Linked DNA regions of Homo sapiens: region 2 is linked to region 1. The links are contacts of gene promoters, found by promoter capture Hi-C in blood cells and fetal thymus (Javierre and others, 2016). All regions are on one chromosome and are shown on one strand. The core of a region is centred on a gene start or on the middle of the fragment in contact, and the rest is flanking DNA. Distances in the headings are between cores, read along the strand shown. Region 1 holds the start of GUCY1B1 (guanylate cyclase 1 soluble subunit beta 1). Region 2 has its middle 84 kb from the start of GUCY1A1.

The links. The method cuts DNA at HindIII sites, captures the fragments that hold promoters and counts their contacts. A CHiCAGO score of 5 or more calls a contact.
Region 2: a fragment that was not itself captured here is called in contact with the fragment with the promoter of GUCY1B1 in region 1 in 1 of 17 cell types (M2 macrophages); the score reaches 5.8 in M2 macrophages.

What each region holds. Positions count from the first base shown.
Region 1 is chr4:155,756,048-155,761,187 of GRCh38, reverse strand. It overlaps GUCY1B1 (guanylate cyclase 1 soluble subunit beta 1), which reads right to left and starts at 2,167. Exons shown (of 14, transcript NM_000857.5): 1 at 2,045-2,167; 2 at 1,328-1,401. The coding sequence starts at 2,047. It overlaps LOC105377506 (a long non-coding RNA gene), which reads left to right and starts at 2,773. Exons shown (of 8, transcript XR_007058484.1): 1 at 2,773-2,998. RefSeq lists silencers at 1,120-1,389, 1,840-1,989. The HindIII fragment of the contact is 7,462 bases long and covers 1-5,140 here.
Region 2 is chr4:155,580,596-155,585,842 of GRCh38, reverse strand. No RefSeq gene overlaps it. Among named protein-coding and RNA genes, the nearest start is that of GUCY1A1, 84 kb to the left of the region's middle. The HindIII fragment of the contact is 5,564 bases long and covers 1-4,470 here.

The DNA of each region.
Region 1 (5,140 bases), core at 918-3,417:
AACTTTTGGTGCCTATGTTCTCATTGGATTCAACCACATACTTGCCAAATCTCGGCTTCTGTTTATAATATGTAGGTAATATGCCCTGTGGATAATACAAATGGTTTCTGAAACATGAAAGAAACGCTCAGTGATACAGATCCAGGGGAAAGAAAAGTTACATTTTCGTGCTTAATATATAACCCTGGTCATTTCTATGGAAACAGATCGTTATGAGAAATCACCATCATGTAACTGCATAATAAGGCCTGTTAGAATTGATTGCTAATAATTGTAATGTGCTTAGGGAAAAACAGCATGGAAGCCTCACCTACCTGAGACAACAAAATGAAATCACTAAGTACAGGAAATCAGAGTGAATAATAACAGTGTATTCCCATCTGCCCACCCAGGAAACCCTTCCTTCCACCTTTGTTACAATGTGATAGTCTGACTGTTGCTCTAATATGAAAATCCATAAATAGGGTTTTGGAGTAGCTAGTTGGTGGTGGTCAGCTGTACCATAAGTTAAATGCAAATTTTTTGAGAGTGAGAGGAAAAAGGAGAGACAACTTTATTAGAGTGAAATAGTCAACCTGCCTGCAGACATGCTGACCCATCAGTCATTCCAACAGGTTTAAACTCTCAGGTGGGTGTGGTATTTCCGTTCACATCCCCAGTACTGGGCTCAAAGCTCCAGGACTGAAAGTAGAATGCCTCCTAGAACTGTTAAGTCTTCAACACAGTAGAAAAAAACGGGGGATAGGGGTTGGGGCGGGGGGGGTGGGCAGTGGGATTTGGGGAAAACAAAAAACTTCCAATTTTCACTTTATTTAAAAATGAATAAATGCGCTTAATTCACTGTTGCTCAAGAAATAATCTCCCGCGTGTTTCAGCATACCAAAAAGGCCTAACTTACGCCAGGTGTGTAAATCATAAAGGAGCCAAAGTCTTCCGTTTGTTTCTAAGGCCTCCGGGCGCAGGAACCTCGCGGAGGCCCGTGTGGTCCCTCGGGGCTCTGCACGCGTGGGAGCTGCCCGGCCTGCTGAGCCTGGGAGCGCCGGCAGCGCGTTCCCACGCTCAGGCCGGGTCGGGAAGCCGTGGTGACCCCTAGGGGCTCCTTTCCGCGGTTCTCGCCCTCGCAGCCCCGCCCCAGCCGCCCCTCCCCTCCTGGTTCCAGTCCCGGAGCGTGGGAGCGCAGCTGCAGCGAGCCGGGAGCGAGGCGCGGAGGCACCTCCAAGGATGCGCGCCCGCGACCCGGCCAGCAGGCTGAGGACCAGGCGAGGCGCGGGGGGCCTCCCACACTGGGCGCCGACCTGGGCCACAGCCAGGGTAGCCGGCCACTTACTTGATGTCTTCCCACACCTCGGGGCCGTAATTGCGGATCACCAGCAACTCCAGGGCGTGATTCACAAATCCGTACTGCGGGGACAGGGAGAGACTTGAGCGTCAGGGACCCGCTGTACCTGAGAAGCGGCTTGGGGGCGAGGCTGCTGCCTCTGCTCCCATGGCGCTGGCTTAACCTTTCACCCCGCCCCTGACTCCTCTCCCTTAGGGGTACTATGCACTAAAGGAGTCGGATCGTGGGGGCGCAACCCCCCAATCCCTGGTGGATTCTCCCCGTCACCATCCGCCCCACCCCCACGCTATCTTCCCACCCTCCTCACCTGTCACCGCTCCGGGAGAGGCTGGGCATCGGGGGCAGCGCGGGGACGCGAACCCGGAGCCTTCCCTTCCGCTGGCGCTCAGCCTCCCACACTGGTGGGGCCGGCCAGAGCCGGGAAGACCCCACGCCTCCGCCGCACCTCCCCTTCCCGAGCTCAGGAAGCTGCGGTGTGGAGCGGCAAACCCGCCTGGGAAGCAAAGGCACCGATCGCCCCCGCCACGACTCGCGGCGTTCCCACCTCCCCTGACTGGGCGCGGGCAAGGAGTGAGGCTGCTCCCGTGGCCGGCAGTGAGCGCCCAGGGCCCCCGAGCCAAGCTCCGGCTGCGCGGCCAGTTCCCTCGCTGCCAGGCCGGCCGAGGAGGGGTGAGGTTCGGGCCGCACCCGGCTGAGAGCACTTACCATGGTGTCTGCACCGGGAGCCGGGGAGGCAGCCCCCACGCAGAGGTACGGCCGAAGGGACCCAGGCAGAGGCGGCAGCGGCTACAGCGCAACCGGGCCGGGGAGGCAGCATCGAGCTGGAGCGAGAACAGCCGCCTTGGCCCGCCCTGATTGCCACCTCTTCCCAGCCAATGGCGAGTCGAGCCGCAGGGGGCTGGTCGGTGCTCCCCAGTTCTTCAACCAATCAGGGACAGAGGAGGGAATTCGGATGCTCTCAATGCTGCTGCGCTCCAGTGCCTTCCCGCCCCCGCCTGGTGACAAGGCCTTCATTTGAGGCCATAACAATGACAGTGGAGAAGCCCCAGCCGTGCTCCTTGCATGAATTCTGGAGCAGAGGAAATGCAGCTCTTGTGGACCCACTAAATGTATTATTATTCAGAGATCTGCCCTCAGTGGTTAACACAAGCAAAAGGGAACAGGGCGTGTTTGTTGTGTGAGCGTGTACGTGTGTACTTTGCAATGGACAGACCTTAAAAGGAATATCCTCTGTTGCTGGCATCCTCATGCTTATCTTTGTCTAGCGGAAAAACATTTCCTCTGTGGCTTGGTCCCACAACAGTTTATGGCAAATTTAAAGCTGGTAATATTGAGAAAAACATATTTTCACTTCTAGTCAATGAGACTAGTTGAGTGAAGCACCAAAAATTTTCAGTAATGTAGTTTGGTGGACGTTATGTTAAATCCAGTCCTGCCCTTTACTAAACTGTACAAGATCCAGCGATATTCTAGGCTTGATCCCTGTGGGACACCTTTCCCTACACCATGTCCGGGAGCCATAATTCCAGGGAGTTTGTAACCCTCTAGAGCGGGCCTCTGTTGCTGTTTCTTAGCAACAGACGAACTGGAAAATGACCAGTACAAAATGCACAGACTTTAACTACTCTACCTCCAGCTTACATTCTACCAGGCCCTTAGGTTAGTTAATGCTCTGAGTCCTGCCATAGAGAGAAGATGAGAGGAACAGGAAGTGGCAGCTTATTAAAGCTGTTTGTACCTGAGGTATATGGACTCCAGTTGACTTTTAGGGCAAGGTCAAAAGTGAGGTCACCAGTCTCAAGTGGACCTGAGAAGCCAGATGGTATTTTAAGATGTGCATATTTTGTTGTGAGAACAGTCTCAATATGGTTAGAGAAAAATGTCAAAACAATAAGATTGTGCTGACATCAGCACCGAGAGAGCTATGATGAAGGAAACTGATACAGAAATAGTGGCATGTAGCAAACAAACAAAACAACAAATTACTTTAAAAATTTCCATTATTGGTGGAATGAGTAAATAGATTACAGCCTTTCATACAATCTAACACCTTGTTTTAAACAACTATTAAAACATTAATCATTATTTAACAACAATTAACCACTAATTTTGAACCATTAAAATGGCACATTAAACAACCATGAAAAAGCAGGAGGGTGACTAGAAAATGATGATGCAGAAAAGTATTGTCAGGTTTACAAAACACCACAAGAATGTAATCATTTTCCATTTTTTAGAGTTAGTATACAGTAAGGTGCTATGTGGGTAATAACACAGGCACATACATGTTGCTGTAAGAATAATGGTTTGGGAGGAAACACAGGAAGTGTTGATATGGCTATCGTCTGTAATTAGAACCAGTGGCTGGAATGGCCATGACTCTTACTTTTTATAACTTTCTGTATCTTTTGATTATTTTTCTACACAGATGAATTTTCTTTACTGTTACATAACTGAATTTTTTTTAACTTTTATTTTAGTTTCAGGGGCACATATGCAGGTTTGTTATATAGGCCAATTACATGTCTTGGGGGTTTGGTGTACAGATTACTTTGTCACCCAAGCACTAAGCATGGTACCCAACAAATAGTTTTTTGATCCTCACCCTCTTCCCACCTTCCATCCTCAAGTAGGCCCCAGTGGTCATTGTCCCCTTCTTTGTGTTCATGTGTACTCCGTGTTTAGCTCCCACTTGCAAGTGAGAACATGTGGTATTTGGTTTTCTGTTTCTGTTAATTTACATAGGATAATAGTCTCCAGCTCCGTCCATGTTGATGCAAAGGACATGATCTCATTCTTTTTGATGTCTGCATAGTATTCCATGGTATATATGTACCACATTCTCTATCCAGTCTACCACTGATGGACATCTAGATTGAGTCCATGTCTTTGCATATAGTGAATTCACATATTAATTCACATATATTCACAAGTATTCATTTTGTGAATAGTTTATTTCATTCCATGTGACTAGTGCTGTGATGAACGTATATGCATGCATGTGCCTTTATGGTAGAATGATTTATACTCCTTTGGGTATATACTCAATAATGAGATTGCTGGGTCAAATGATGTTTCTGTTTTAAGTTCTTTGCGAAATCACCAAACTGCTTTCCACAATGGCTGAACTAATTTACATTCTCACCAGCACTATATAAGAGTTCCCTTTTCTCTATAACCTTGCCAGAATCTGTTGTTATTTGACTTTTTAATAATATACATAAAATAACTTTTAACTTGCTAAAAAAACTTAAAAAAAAAAACTATGTCTCTTATCTGTTCACCTTTGAGCAGCAATGGACCCATGCTCTCTGGTTTACGGTGTGTTGTGGTGTCCTCCACCTTAAACTTTACATAGGCAAAAGATAAGGAGATTGAATTGTTCTCTGGGAATGAAAAATGAGGAAAGCTCACTTAGAGAAAGATATGAGAGGAAATGAATAATGAGCATTTCTGCCAATGTCCCTTTCTCTCTGTCTCTTTCTCTCTATTTCAGTTCTTCTACCCTCACTTTCCCTTTTGTCCAATAACTTTTTGCACTTGTTGTTGTTTTTGTCCAACACATTTTTGCATTTGTAAATGTTTTTACTGTTTTATTTTCCAATTGTCTTATATTCATTCTGAATCTAAAAGAAGTTCTAGACACTAAACATTTACTGACTTTTGTTTGGCCTACAAGATATTACACAGGCTGTGATGTTCAGGGACAGAAGGATGCCTGCCAGCTGTAGAGGATCTCAAAAGAGGGGTCACCATTCTTCTATAAAAGCTCCCTACCTGTTGTCATCACTGCTGGCCAAG
Region 2 (5,247 bases), core at 439-2,938, 170 kb after region 1:
ACTGAGGGATATCTTCTAATTCATTTGGTGCTGCCTACGCTGTTCACTATTTGAATCCTCATTGCAAAGCTCCACCTTGTCTCTTGAAAGTTTTAAGGGCAATTGCATAACTTATCAACCAAACTAGAAGAGTATAATAGGGTGCAAGTAAAATTATGACAGAATAACACAAAAATCTGGACCGTTGCAGGGAAACTCACATGTGTGGTCATTCCACTTAAATCTAGGAACTCAGCATCTTTGTAGCCAGCGCTGGCTACTGGATGCTGGTGAAGCTGGAAACACTGAGCTGAGTGTTGAGGCTTGTGAGATGCACCGCTCAGTCATTCCTCCAGGTTTTGCTAATCCACCAGGGTGCTGCAAGGGAGCTGGACATAGATCTACAATACCAAAAGTCCCATGGACCTAGTCTCCATCCAGACATAAGGAACCTCATCATTACTCTCCAAGTTTGAGCCTTCCCATATTCAAAGTACATGTGGATTCTCTTGTCCTTACTTGTAAAATATCCTCAAGAGTTCAGGCTTTAAGAATATAAAAGGTAGGTAGAAACAGAAAATGTTTTTTAGGTACATTTAACTGTTATCTACACAATAAAATTTAGCTCTTTTGTGAGAGTGGCAAATAATTCCTTTCTTCTCCTCATTATTTCAGAATTATTTGAGAGGTAGACAGAGATTACCAAGAGAGAGATCATTAGGCCAGCTGTATTACTGATAAAGCTGATTGGAGAGGTGGTTTTAGATGTGTGGCCAAATGCACTAGTAAATACTTTACATCTTGACAATTAGACCTATTCATCCACTTAGTAACCAGCATACTGGACAACTTCAGGTCTCCTCAGAAGGGACAGAGCCCCCTGAGAGAAGGTCAGAACATGAATGGGTAGAGGATGTGACAGGCTGGTTTCAAAAGACAGAGTCTAGAAGGGGCTCCAATCCTACCCCACGGAGAAATTACTTTTTCTTCTATTGTGAGTGCTGTGGTCTCAATGTATGTGCTCCTCCAAAATTCATATGTTGGAATTTAGACCCTGAAGTGATGGTATGAAGAGGTGGGGCTTTTGGGGAAGTGATTTAACAATGAGGGCTTTGCCCTCATGAATTGATGAGTACTTTCTAAAAGTAGTCAAAGGGAGTGTGCTTGTCCCTTTTTAGCCCCTTCCACCATGAGAGGATACAGTAAGGGAGAGGAGCCCTTGCCAGACACTGAATCTGCTAATTCCCTCTTGGACTTCTCAGTCTCTGTAACTGTGAGAAGATTCATTTCTGTTTTGTTATAAATTATCCAAAGTATTTTGGTTTAGCAGCACAAATGAACTAAGAGAATGAGCTTCAAGGCAAAAGGAGCTTTCCCATAGGAGCTTTCATCTCTAATTTTTCAGCAGCAAAAACAAATACACAAAAAACCAACAAGTTAATATTTCAGTGCATAATTTTGCCTAAACCATGGGCTTTCTGAGTACAAACCTTTAAAAAAGAAGATAACTCTCTTGTCCTAATGTTTAGTTAGTTCATAGTAGGTTTTTATTTTCATTATCATTATCATTATCATTATCATTATCATTATCATTATCATTATTTGAGACAGAGTCTCCCTCTGTTACCTAAGCTGGAGTGCAGTGGTGCGATCTCGGCTCACTGCAACCTCTGCCTCCCGGATTCAAGCGATTCTCCTGCCTCAGCCTCCGAGGTAGCTGGGACTACAGACCCATGCCACCACGCCCGGCTAATTTTTGTATTTTTGGTAGAGACGATGTTTTGCCATGTTGGCCAGGCTGGTCTCGAACTTCTGACCTCATGTGATCCACCCCGCCTTGGCCTCCCAAAGTGCTGGGATTACAAGCGTGAGCCCTCAGCCCAGCCAAGTTTTCAATATATATTAGTTATGCATGCCTGCATGAACAAATGAATCATGACTTTTTCATTTTATTTCCCTAAACAGAAACTTTCAGTTGACTTAATTGAATTTATAAGTTATTTCTTATCCTAGAATCCAGCACGTTTTTATCTTGTCCTAAGAAAACTTACCACATTATCTTCTACACTTGCCAATATAATCTTTCCATTCCTGTCCAATGGATCTAGTGAAAATTAGTTGTGCCATGCTCACTTTCATTTTATGATTGTTTAGATTGTATTACTTTTTTCCCTGTTGTAATCCTCTACATCATTCTTCAATCTCGTGTTGAAACTACATATTTTTTCTCATAAATTGCTTATTAAGGAAGCCAAAGTTTTCTCTTCTCCTCAGACTACTATAACTTATACTGATTCATGCAACTCAATTGTTACTTTTCAAATATTTCCTTGTTTGGCTGCCATATATATTTTTTCTCTTCAATTAATAAAATTCTTGAGAATAAGAAACATACCTACATTTTTCCCCCTTGCTTTCATGCCTAGAAGAGCACTGAGCAGATAATAACTGCTAAGTACATCTCACCGACGGTGTTAAATAAACAAAAGCCTGACATGCTACGTAGTTTCCTGCCTGTGCTCTGCAGTTTAATGGCCAACAGAAGGTCTTTTGTGGCAATTTATGTTTCTGAGTCAAGAGCATTGTAATCAAACATCCTCCAAACGAAGTCAGAAGTTAAACTCCTGCCACTGTCTTCCCCTTTTCCAAGCACAGAAGACTATTTTTCTAAGGAAATTCTGAGAAATTATCTTTCATCATAATTAGTACATAATTCCAACTCAGTTAACCTTTGCATGTTACATGATAACATCTCCTTGGTTTAGCTTCAGGAAGTGATGATGTCATACAGTGTAGGTGGGGAGCATATACTATTACAACACTTTTGGAGGACAACCTAGCAATGATATCACATGCCTGAAAATGTATAAAATCTTGGCTATTAAGTTCTGGTTTCTTATCCTGAGGGATTAGTCAGAAATATGTGCAGGATTTAGATGAGAATTTTGTGACATTATGAAAAGTGGAAAACAAGTTCTATGTCAAGAAATAAAGATTGATAAAATAAACTAATATATGTATCGTGTATGTGTGTTATGTGTCAACATAAATGGTTATGAAAAATAAAATAATTTTATCTGTATAAGAGTAAAAAAAGATGAAAATTTTAAAAATTAAAAATTGATTAAGAAATGCAAAATATGCAAACATAACAGATAAAATGGAGGAAGTTATAAACATTTACACAATGGTGATACTGGTGTTTATCACTAGATAAGTGGAGTGATATGTATTTTTCTCTTATTCAATTACTATTATCCTATATTTATTTTGGTTACCTTGGGTTGCTCTGGAAATGAGTAAAAACAGAATTCATTTTAAATTAAAACAAAGGTATTAAAGTATGTAATTGTCTAGGACATTTGAAAAAGATCTATATATTCAATCAATTTAATAACACTTGTGAATACCCAATTAATTCCGGAGAGGGGTTGTGAGGTGGGGTTCACACACTTTTGAGGTAAATGGGCTCTAGGTCGAATAAAAGGATGAAGTTATCAAGGTTTGAAAAATATTTTTTACCTGGGTACACTGGAAAAATCTATCCTTTCCTAGAAGCTAATGGCCTTTATGCACAGCAATCTGCTACAGCAGCCTGCACAATTTTATTTGCCTCCTCCAGATGATGTGCATACTAATTAGTCATGAGAATTCCCTTTTCACAAGGTCAAAGAGTTAATGTTAGAAGCATGGTTTATAGGCACTTCTTTCTTTCTACAAACAATGATAAACTCTCACATTTTGCTTATTATAAATAAGTTTAAAATAACATTGAAAAATAAATATTTTAACAAAGAAAATTAGGGCATTAAGAGGGAGAGACTGGATAATGTGTTCATGGAAGAGGCCTGTAGATTTTATAACAATAATAGTTATCATTTTCATAGTATCTTTTGTCCTGCCTTCATGACAATATTTTAAACAATAGTTACTTAAGATTTTTGAGTGAATTTAATGAATTTCTTATTGTTGCTTTATTCATTAATGTCTAGGTCATTCATTAATTCATGGCATACTTACAGGCAACTTCAGTACTATTGTGGATTCAGTTCTAGACCACTCCAATAAGGCTAATATTGCAATAAAGCAAATCGCAGTAATTTTGTTTGCCAGTGCACATATAAGTTATATTTATACTATAATCTATTCAGTGCACAATGGCATTAAATCTTAAAAAAATGGACATATCTTAACCAAAAATACTTTATTGCTAAAAACTGCTAACAGTCATCTGAGTTTTCTTTTTCCTAGTGAAAGGTCTTGCTTTGAAGTTGATGGCAGCTGATGGATCAGGGTGGTGGTTGCTGAAGACTGGGGTGGATGTGCCAATTTCTTAAACCTACAATGAAGTTGCCTCATTGATTGAGTCTTTGTTTCATGAAAGATTTCTCTGTAGTATGTGATGCTACTAGATAACATTTTACCCATAGTGGAACTTATTTCAAAATTGGAGTAAATTATTTCAAATCTTGATGCTGTATCAATTAAGCTTATGTAATATTCTAAATCTTACATTGTCATTTCAACAGTGTTCACAGCATCTTCACCAGGACTATATTGTATCTCAAGAAACTCCTTTTCTTGCTCATTCATAAGAAGCAACTCCTCATCTGTTCAAGTTTTATCATAAGATTACAATAACTCAGTCAGAGATTCTGGTTCCACTTCTAGTTCTCTTGTTATTTCCACCACATCTGCAGTTATTTCCTCCACTGGCCTTGAACCCTTCAAAATCATGCATCAGGGCTGAAATCAACTTGTTCCAAACTCCTGTTAATGTTGATATTTTGACTTCCTCCCATGAATCATAAGTGTTCTTAATGGCATCTAGAATGGTGAATCCTTTCCAGAGGTTTTCAATTTATTTTGCCCAGATGTTTCAGAGGCATCATCAAGACAGCTATAACCTTACAAAATGTATTTGTTAAATAAGACTTGAAAGTCAAAATTATTCCTTGATCCATGGGCTGCAGAATAGATAAGATGTTCTGTTAGAAGTCATGAAAATAACATTAATCTCCTTGTATATCTTCACTAGAGCTCTTGGGTGACCCAGTGCATTGTCAATGAACATTAATATTTTGGAAGGAATCTTTATTTCTGAGCAGAAGTTCTCAACAGTGGGCTTAAAATATTGAATAAACCATGCTGTAAAAGATGTGCTGTCATCCAGGCTTTGTTGTTTCATTATAGAGCATGGGCAGAGTAGATTAAGCATAACTATTTAAGGCCCCAGGATTTTTGGAATGGCAAATGAACTTCAGCTGC